2 separate regions of the Homo sapiens genome follow, and region 1 is linked to region 2. Evidence: promoter capture Hi-C in 16 types of primary human blood cells and fetal thymus (Javierre and others, 2016). All regions are on one chromosome and are shown on one strand. Each heading gives the region's core, a stretch centred on a gene start or on the middle of the fragment in contact. The rest is flanking DNA. Distances are from core to core; before and after follow the strand shown.

Evidence for each region. Contacts are between HindIII fragments. The CHiCAGO score rates a contact against its expected background, and 5 or more counts as called.
Region 1: a fragment that was not itself captured here is called in contact with the fragment with the promoter of TMEM215 in region 2 in 1 of 17 cell types (non-activated CD4 T cells); the score reaches 5.2 in non-activated CD4 T cells.

What each region holds. Positions count from the first base shown.
Region 1 is chr9:32,179,593-32,184,814 of GRCh38, reverse strand. No RefSeq gene overlaps it. Among named protein-coding and RNA genes, the nearest start is that of ACO1, 200 kb to the left of the region's middle. The HindIII fragment of the contact is 2,079 bases long and covers 2,791-4,869 here.
Region 2 is chr9:32,779,408-32,785,078 of GRCh38, reverse strand. It overlaps TMEM215 (transmembrane protein 215), which reads right to left and starts at 1,539. Exons shown (of 2, transcript NM_212558.3): 1 at 1,274-1,539; 2 at 1-953. The coding sequence starts at 895. The coding sequence ends at 188. LOC105376017 (a long non-coding RNA gene) reads left to right here and starts at 2,173. Exons shown (of 7, transcript XR_929559.2): 1 at 2,173-2,436. The HindIII fragment of the contact is 4,873 bases long and covers 1-4,597 here.

The DNA.
Region 1 (5,222 bases), core at 2,581-5,080, 600 kb after region 2:
CTTCCTTATAGTAGTTTCTCAATGTTTATCAAGCATACTCAAAGAAGAAACATATTTATCAACATACTTAAATATACGTAGCCTTTCTATATCATATTATAAAAGAAGCCAAAGTATATAAACTTAAGTTTATTTTATTTTATATTTATTTACTTATTTTGAGACGGAGTCTTGCTCTGTCACCCAGGCTGGAGTGCAGTGGTGCGATCTCAGCTCACTGAAAGCTCCGCCTCCTGGGTTCACGCCATTCTCCTGCCTCAGCCTCCCGAGTAGCTGGGACTACAGGCGCCCGCCACCGCGCCCGGCTAATTTTTCATATTTTTCGTACAGACGAGGTTCCACCGTGGTCTCGATCTCCTGACCTCGTGATCCGCCTGCCTCGGCCTCCCAGAGTGCTGGGATTACAGGCGTGAGCCACCGCGCCTGGCCCAAACTTAAGTTTATGTTTAGTAATCAATGTCTCAGTATTTAATCTTATTTAAAGATCATCTAGATATTTAATAACTATCTATTACTTAATTTAGCATAAGTCTAAAGTTGTAAGTTACCAAAAAGTATTTTGGAAACTATTTTAAGCAGACTATCATAAAGCATAATTGTTCAAATAAACTAATCACACAAGATGCCTGGTTTCTAGTTAGTCCACCTGCAACCTCCAATGAGGGCGTACCTGAAGCCTTCCCTTTTCCTCCCACTGCCTACCTTTCCCGTCCCTCTGCCTGCCTTTGAGTATCTTCCAAATGCAAATGATAGTGGCTAGCTCCCGAGCTACAGCAAGCTCTGAATAAATAGCTTTTGCTTATTCTCATGCGAGTAGTCTTCTTTTACTTCCACACATTCATGGGAAACTATTTCTAATATCTACTTTGGTATTTATAATAATAAGCTACTAATATCATCAATAAAACCCCACTTCTAACATTCATTTTGTCAATTGGCATAGTTTGTGGTATAGCAGGAGACACAGAAAACTGAGGTATTTGTGACAATTATATCTGCAATATGGTCTTTCTGATTAAATGGTAGCTGACGATACCTAGAGTGTAAATTGATCAGGGGAACTGATTTCCTTAATTATCTTAATTTCTTTAATTCCCTTGTCCTCCTTAATTCATCAATAACATCTGATGAATGTACCTCTAAAACATACCTCAGTTCCTTACACTTATTTTTATCTCTCACTGCTAGTATCCTGTCCACATCACCATTCTCTCTTGCTTAGACTAAAGCAATCACCTCCTTACTGGATGTTTCTCTTTCTATTGCTCATATATATCTAATCTCCACAGAGAAGCCAGAGGAATCTTTAAAAAATATGTATCAGTTCATGTTAGTCCCCTGTTTAAAACTCTCAAATGGCTTTCCTTTCTACCTAGAATAATCTTGTTTTGGTCTTCTATCTCCTACTTAGAATAGCTTGCCCTGCTCTCTCTCTCTCTCTTTCTCTGATATTTTATTCTTCCCTTCACACACTAGTCGAAGGTCTCTCTGTCCATTCTGTTTCTTACACATGCCGAAATTTTTCTATCTGAAGACACTTACACTTGATCATGACACAATTCTTAGGATCATCATTGACTTCTCTCTTTCTTTCATACCCCATATTGATTCCATTCATAAATGTTATTAACCCTACTTTCAGAATGCATCCAGCCTCTAACCATTCTTAAACCATCCATCCTACCACCTGGTCCATGCCAGCATCCTCTTTTGCCTTGATTATTGTCATAGATTCCTGTCTAGTCTTTCTCCCTACAGTCTCTTCTCAACAGAGTAGCCAGTCAACTTGTTAAACAAAATTCCAGCTATGTCATTCTTGGCTCTAAAATATCTCATCTTGTTATCTTTTGCTCAGAACCCCCCCACTTCACTCACAGTAAAATTCAATTGCCTATAATGCCCACAGCTCCCTGCACCCCAGTCTCATCTCCCTGCTACCCATTTTCACTTGATCCAAATGGGCCTTATTGGGGTTCCTTTAACATGCTAGTCACCCCTTGTCTCTCAGAACATTTGCACATGCAGTATTATCTGCCTGGAATGTTCTTCCCCCAAATATTTCCATAGTTTGCTTAGGAATTCTTTCAAGTCTCTGCTCAAATGTCTCCAAATAAATGTGACCTTCTCTGACCACCCTATCTAAAACAACCCCTCCTCTCATCATCTTACACCCAGTATTCCCTGGCTCCCTAACACTACTTCTATCCCTTACTCTGCTTTATTTTGCTTCGTAGAACTTTCACTTTTTAACACATAATATTTTTACCTATTTATTCTGGTAGTCAAGAAATCAACCAAGGCTTTTACAATTCTGTGACGTACAAACAGAACTGTAGAGTAGAAAATTCTGAGAAATAAAGGGCAGTGAAGATTAGAGCTGAGTGCCCACTGTAGGGAACTATCTCATATCAAAGAGAATCATTCAAAAATCAGTGCAAGCATGGGTGCTGTGGTTTGTTTGAATAATTTAGGCAGCTCTGCAACCAATGCACCAGAGGTGGGTAATTTTCTGCTCTATTTTTCCAGAACATGAGATGAAGCTATCACTGACATTATTCCCACTTTCAAAAATGTTCATGAAAAGGCAAATCTGAGATAAGTGGCACAAAAACAAGCTTGTGGTATTCACTTCAGGTATTGCTGAGCTATTTAAATGAGAACAAGCAATTTGGTTCTCTCATCTGGAGTATTTTACTGAAAGTAGAATGTGAAATTTTATGTTTTGTTTTTAAAAGTCTTTTGGTTTCTCTGATTTGATTTTTTTTCTGCTTTGCTGAAAAAAATAAAGCTTGCTTAACTTATTCTGTATTTTTTTAAATGTCCAAATAGATTTAATGTTGTGATAATAACTCCAGCTAAAATTAAACTGAGCTAATTTTAAAGTCACATAAAATTTTTTCTAATATCTTTAGCTAGAGAGATTTAAATACACATATTTTCTGGTAAAAGAGGAGTCTGTGTTAAAAATATATTTCTGGTGATAAACATTGATGGGAGTTGAAAATGCAAGCCTTATTTTAACCCTCCACTCAGAAATTTCATACACATCCCACAGGAAAACCAAATGAAAGAGAGGCAAAATCTCCTTGCAACAGATGAAGAGTAGTTTTTCCCCATCAAGTCTGAGGGGCTCAACTTCATATCCTTCCCACTCCTGGAAATGTTACAGAGTACTTTCATAAACCTAATGTCATTTTATCCTCTGAAAATTCTATGGAATTGACAAGATAGCTATTTTCGTCCCTATTTTATAGTAAAAAAATGATATAATGTGATATAATATCACATTATATCACAGATATCATGTGATTAAATGACTTTGATAAAATCACATCTCTAGTAGGAATGTATCCATTTAGCAGAAAATAGCCATATAGTCCCACTTCATACTGAAGACTTAATTGCTCAACTTCACATAAAAGTGGAGTGCCCTCTCTCCAGAAAACCTTAGCAGGATCATTGATGTTCATAATTAGATTTTATGGAATGGCAGAGGAATTATGAAATGGGGTCACCATCCTGAGGGCCCTTACATATGCAAATAATTCACCAGAAACATGAACGAGAAATACTCAATCATCTAACATTTGTGCTTTGAAACATGTCCTTGAAGGAGAAGAGATCAAGTTACGCACTTGTTTAGATGGCAGGTGGACCATACTTTTGGAACTTATACTAGGAAGGCCTCAGTTGACTGTAACATCAAGCTGCCATCTCCAAATGGAATCAAGAGCTGTAGACCAATGGTCATGATTTTAATTCTTGGTGCTCTCACTACACTTCTACATATTTCTGTAGAATAACTAAGTGTAAAGTGCTTTCAAATAAAAATAGCTATATATAGTCAGGATACCGGGAAATCTAAATTTACTTGAAAGAAGAAATAGAAGTTTGAATCTTCACTGTCTACTTCTAAAAATAAAAGAAAATTTGATGAGCCAGCCTCATTCTGTGTACTATTTTAGAAAAAGAACAAACACAGAGGAACCTCAGTAGTGTCAGCTGTCATCATCAAGTTCAGACTTGAGTGTTTTTTTTCCAGGTTCTGCCAAAAACCCAGCTGGGAGAAGTGGTACTACATGACCTATGCTATTCTATCTCCTTTAGATACTTCAGATTCTATCCCTAAACAGGCTTAACCACTAAACAGTAGAAAACTGTTGTTATGCTCCTTAGTACATAGTTTCACTTGTTTTAATGTTTTCTGTAATACTTTATCAAATACTAGTAACAGCAGCAGCAACAACAAAAATCCAAAACGGCCGTATGGAATTTCTGGCTCCAACATTCTGGTGTTTACTCATGGTATATCTTTAGTACCTTCGACAGTGCTGCACAGACGTTAGCTGTTCAGCAAATACTTGTTGAGTAAAGGCTACTTTAAGGGATTGATTTTTATCCTAAGCTCATTAAAATGCGATTGAAAGGTTTTCATGGGAGAAGCGACATGATTAGAATTGCATTTTATTACATTTACTCTTTCAGCTACCTGTGAAACGGATTAGAAAAACACAAGTAAAGAATTAAAAAAAAATTATTAAAAATATTGTTGATAACAGCGATTCTTGTTTTAAGACAACAATCTTACTAATGTGTATAACACTGTAGGCTTTTTACTTAAATGTATACTTTTTATTACCATGGGGAGAATTCCCTCATCTTATTTTAGTTGTTTTAGACTGGACATTTAAACAGGTCATTAAATGCTGTCAAACCTTTTCCTGAGAAGATACTTTGAAGGTAAATAATTGAATAGATGAAAAAAAATGAGGAAAAAAGAAAATAAACGGTATGAAAGAAAAGGAGACTGAATGCACCCAAAGTATGGTTCTACAAGTTTATTAATGGCTGGCCATACATACCTAAGCTTAACTGCAGAGGCAGTCCTCATTTTTGTTTACCCAGGGATACAAAAACCTCATTAATAGTTGGACATCAATACATGTTTGTAGAATTAGCTACTTAGTTAAGTCATTCTTATATTTTCCAAAAGTTCTTATATTCCATAAAGGAAGCTATACTGGAAATATTTTACTTTTATTCCTTTCTCCTGCCTTCTCTATTGGAGCAGAGATACCTATGAGGCTCAAGGAGGTGTGGATTTTTTTCTTTCTTTCTTTCTTTTTTTTTTTTTTGTGGGGAGGGAGGGTAATAAAGCAATAAATACAGTGAAATGGTCTTTTCCTCTTCCTATCGTGGAATTGATTTTGTTTTCCTAGGTT
Region 2 (5,671 bases), core at 290-2,789:
GCCCTTCCCTAAAATGTGTCCCCAACATGCCTATTTACATGACTCTCGGGTACCAGAGGTTATCACACCCATCACATACCAGGTCAATTTCTAACAGTGTGAAGGCTCTCCAAGCAGAGCAATTTGCTTCCACGGGGAGCTGGGCTTAGTCATATTCTATCAATCCAGCCACCTTTGTAGGCAGAGATTAGACGATGGTCTCGTGGTCCCACCTGCCTTGTATCTGATTGATATAACAACAGTATCTGTCATACGGGCTGTTCTGCTTGTAGGAGCAAACGATGATACTGTCCTGGGGCACAAAGAAGATGCTATCCTCAGGCTCAGGGCACTCAGATCTGTCCCTTGCTGAGCACTTGACGTCCAAGGCACTGTAGGTGAGGGAACTGCCCGAGGGGCAGTAGCCGTCCAGGTATCTGGACGTCTCCTCCTGATGCCCATTCTGGACGAGGCTCTGGCATTCTCCTTCCTCCGTGGGTGTGGGGCTGTTGATGGAGCTGGCCACGGACACCTCACCCTGGCTTTGTGGGGGAGGCTTCCCCCTGAGGCCCGCCTTCTTAGCCAGCTCATCTGAGCTCCCCTTGCCGGATTCTAGGTCTGAAGGGGTCCTCAGCAGCTCTACCACCTCCTTGTCTTTGGGTTTCCGGAAGCAGGGCAATTTGCGGACCCACAGCAGCTCGTTCTCTGGCCACTTGGTGCATCCCTCGGTTTTCCTGGCCAGGGCAATGGCTGCGATGCCTGGTAGGCAGATGGCTGGCCCGATGGCCAGGAGGGGGATGTTTCCCAAAGTCTCCCCTTTCATCCCAGAGACGGTGAACATGAAACCAAAGACGAGGAAGACACTGACCAGGGCCACCACCAGCCCAGTCCTCGGGTTAATGTCATCAGGCCGCATGTTTCACTCCATCCAGGTTGGGGGCTGCTTGCTGACCAGGGAGCAGCGTTCCTCTATTCTGTCAGAGATGAAACCACAGTGCGTTAAAAAAAAATCCAAGTCAAGCTCCCACCCATCAACTCTTGTCTTTCTCTTGCCCTTTGTCTCCGACTTGCTTCTTGACTTTCAGTCTTGATCTCTGTCTCTGTATCTCTCTTGCAATCTCTCTATCTCTCTCTCTGCGTTTCTCTTGCAATCTCTCCCTGTTTCTATTTCTACTCTTTCTCTCCGTCCCCTCTCCCTCCCTCCCTTTCTTGTGCCCTCCCTCTCTTCCTCTCACTATTGCAACCTCCGTCTCTCTCTCATATCAACACGCTCCGGCTGGGGTCAACGAGGTACCTGAGGTTTCCTGCCCTCTCCAGGAAGTAGGGAAAGAAGCCAGGCTGTCTCCTCAGAAGCCCCCACAGCAGCTGCCCCCTCGGCTCGCTCCCTTGGTTCTGGGAGGAAAGCCTGGTTTCCCCCACGGACTCTGCATCGGGGAGGTGGAACCTGGGAGAGCGGCTCTCCCAGCAGTGCCCGTCGGTCCCGGTGCTGTGCAAGCGGAGCCCGGCGCCAGCTCAGCGCGCAGAGCGCGGGGCGCGGGAGGAGGAGGGAGCACTGAGTCTGGGAAAGAGGGGACGCGGCGCGAGCCTGGCCTTGTTACATCACTGTCAGAGCAGGCTCAGAAACGCAGACAGACGCGCGGGGGCGCGAGGGGGTCAGCCCCAGAGGGAGGCCACCCGGCGGCAGGCGCTGCCCGGGGTCTCGTCGGGGCTGCTGGGAGCGGCCGGGGTTTGTGCCGCCGCCGTTCCGGAGGCTGAGCAGGGCGACCTGACCCGCTTCCGTGCCCGGGAAGGGTCTGGGGCGCGAGGCTGCCAGTGGCCGGAGTCGGAAACCAGGGTCGGTTTGCCCACGGGGCAGCCGTTGCAATATCCGAGCTCGGGCTCCCAGTCCGGGATCCGAGGAGTTAGGTGCCAGCTGGAGATGTCCCTCCGGGACCCGCACCCTTCTCCAGTTACAAATCCGGGTGACTGACGGCAGGCCCAGGGGCTCCCCGACCGCCCTTCTCTCAACCCCTCGACTCGGGGCGCGGGGGGGTGTGTGTCCCTCGGGGAGCCGGTGCCCGAGGACTGCTTTGGTCCCGGCTCTGGGCGGTGGCGGCGCGCGAAAGCGCTCTTGCAGCGGAGCGACTGCGCCGCGGGAGCGCACAGAACCAGCGCCCAGGCGGAGTGGGTTAGTGGTGAGGGGTGGGTGCCAGGCTAGTCCGGGCCTTGGGGGAGTCCCCGGAGTCCCCGTGGCTTTCCAGCTCCAGGCTCGGGAGAGGGTGACCTTGGAGCCGGGATTTCACTTCTACAGCGCTGTGGTGCCGGGGGGACAGGGAGAAGGGCTCCCTGGCCCCCAGTTCACGAGGAGAAGGGGCCTTGACCGGTCAGGACCACCACCCTACGACGCCGCTCAGCTCTGGGCGATTCTCTCCTCCCTTGCTGAAGCAGGCATTGAGAGCCTGCGTTCCTCCCGCTCTGGTAGGCAGGGGCAGATGGATTCCTCTGGCCCCGGGGGGCAAGACTGGCTTTGGCTGTGATTCTTCAACAGGGCTGCCCATTTAGGATAGAGGAGGGCGGTGGAGAACAGGTTGATGAGCGGTACATGCTTTCATGTCAAGACACTGATTTACTGGAAAGAATTTTCACATCCAGGCCTTCCCCAGTTAAACTAGCTGTATATTCCTGGGCAAGTGACTTAACCTCTCTGAGAATCAGTCGTCCTATCTGTAAAATGAGATTAATACCAAATATATGAGGAAACATTGTGAGGATTAAATAAACGTAAAGTTCCTAGCACAATGCTTGGTACATAGTCTGTGTACAAAAATTACACACACATGCACACACGTACACATGTATATGTATATATATTTGTCATCATAATTAGTGTCTTCATCATGTATGACAGGAGCCAAACAAATCATAAAGGCTGTGAGACTAAGGACTTTTTATCCACTAGGCAATGAAGAACGCTTGATGTATTTTAAGCAAAGATCAATACAAAAACATTCCAGTTTGACTGAAAGGGGCGGCAGGTGAGAGCATAGGTTGGAGCTGGTAAGTCTGGAAGCCGGGAGTCTTGTTCAGTAAGCTGAGAAGTTCAGTAAGCCGGGCAAGACATGATGTGGCCTTAACAATGTCGGGCTGGTAGAGGAGTTGGAAGGAAGCAGATCTGAGGGTATTTAAGGGTTGAGTGAAGTGTCTTGGAGCACAGTGAAGTGAGATGAAGGGAGGAGCCAAGGTCAACTCCCAACTTTCTCACTTTCAAAGGGGTGGATCAGGAAGCAGATCCTTCTCATTTTCCTCTCCATCATCTATTTTGTATCTTTTGTACTCATGACCATTAGACAGCTGCTGCACCTTTAGGCATAGAATCATTTAGGAGGGAAGAAAGGAGAAAATGCAAAGGGTAAAAGTGAGGTGCCAGTTCTTTGGCCACTTGTATGAGGACAATAATAATTTTCCTGGCAGCCCCCCCAAGTAGATAGGCATCTGCCTGTAATTGACCAGAGATGGATGAGCTTTGGGATACAAAGGTACCTGGGAAATTGTTGTTTATTTATTTACCAGATCCACTGATGGTCTGAAAAAAGGGTTTTGTTTAAAAGGAGCAGCATACTGCTCCTTTTAAATACTGGGGAAGCAGCTCGCTACGTGTGTTACAATTATTGAAAAGTTTTCCCTTCTTAAAACCGTTTCTTTTACTGACACCATTCTATCCTAGTTTTCTTCCTATCTCCCTGGTCACTTATTTGTAGGCTACTTTATAAACTCCTATTTTATTTATTTTTTATTTTAACAAACCCCTTAGATACTGATGTTCTGTGGGTTCTATTCTTGCTTCTCCCCTTTCTTGATTTCTCTTCTCTTTCTTCTCATTCTGTAATAGCCTCGAACAGCCTGAATAGGCTGATGACTCCCAAAACTCTCTCTTTAGCTTTGTCATTTTCCCTCAGCCCCAAATCTATAATATCCAACTGTCTGCTTGATATCTCTAATCTGGATGGTATGCAGACACCTCACACTTGCTAGGGACTTTAGACTTCAGGGATTTAGACTTTAGTGATTTTGATCTATGGGGATTTCAACATTAGGGATTGTGGGGTTTGGGATTGTGTCCTTTGGGATTATGTTCCAAACCCAACCTCATCATTCCTTCCATTTGCCAACTGAGAATATTTGCAATTGTTCTCTACTCCTTTCTCTCCCTAACAGCCTACGTCCAGTAAGTCACCCAAGTCATTATAGTTTTACCTCCTAAGTCCTTTGATTATCCCCTCTTATGGTGGTGACCCTAGGAAAATAACTTTACCTTCCTGTGTTTCAACTTCTTAATGAAACAAAGACTTTGAATGAGGTGCTAGGTAAGATTCATTTTAGCTCTAATGTTCCTTGGTTCTCTTGTAGTTACTTCTGCAGGGCTGAGCTGATGTCAGTGTTGTGGACGTGTTTTGACAATAGTGCTGGAAATAAAGTTGGGTCCTAAAGAAGCAAGATTGCTGAGTGGAGACCTCCTGTCACTTGTACAAACATCCAGTTCTTTTCTGATTTTTAAGCCATGCAGTTTATCTACTTAGGCATTAGATAAGACCCGGGCATAAAACCACAGGAAACTTCAATTGCTGTTTAATTATAAGCTTCATTTTCAAAGCAATTCCTTCTTAGAGGTAATTTCAGATGGTCTTTGAACAGCAGGTATACTTGCCCAAGTCAGCAGCAACAGTGGGTAGGGATTGGAGACATCACTCAGGGTCACAATACTCAGAGACAGATAAGGTGTTCTTAGTATTTAATTTCTTGCCTGTATAGTCTGGATTTTAAAACCTTAAGCAGTTCTTGCAATCCTGTAAGCATATACAGCCATGTACAAAGGCTTTTTCTTAGAAGAGCAAGGAATTCAGGCTGAAATGAGACTTTGGCATGTGGGTGTTTCAGAAGGAAACAGAACCTTTTATTTCTGAAATTATAGAAATCATGGCATGCTAGCCTTTGAAGATACCCTGTAGTACATCTACTCCAACTTCTTTATTGTACAGATGAAGTCTAGAAAGGCTTCATTCATCCAATATTACTTGAGTATTTATTGTGTGCTTAGCATTGTGCTGGGTGCCGGGGGTACAAATCAAATATGACATGGTCTGCCTTTATAGAACTCACACCCTCAGAGCAAGTTGTGTGTATGTCAGGACTGGACAGATTATGTGGTGACAACAAAAGACCTCTAGTTCTACAAAAGCTACATGCTCATAATATTATACATGTCTGTAATGAGCCAGCTGCTGCCTCTCTCCATGTCATCTTCACTCTGATGTTCAGATTGACAGAGCAGCTTCCATTTAGGACACGGCCGATCTTGTAGCAGAGGGACAAAAGAGCAGGACAAACCACATGCTGGCTGGTAAAGTGTATTCCCTAGACTTTGCCATCACCCCCATCTCTCAGGTTCCTCCTCCTTTTGCTTCACTTCTTCCTTCCAGCTCAGCTATCCAACCCTAAAGGGATAATAGAGACCAGGCCTGGTGGCTCACGCCCATAATTCCAGCACCTTGGGAGGCCGAGGTGGGCAAATCACCTGAGGTCAGGAGTTCAAGACCAGCCTGGCCAACATGGTGAAACCCCATCTCTACAAAAAATACAAAAATTAGCAGGTGTGGTGGCATGTGCCTGTAGTCTCAGCTACTTGGGAGGTTGAGGCTGGAGAATTGCTTGAGCC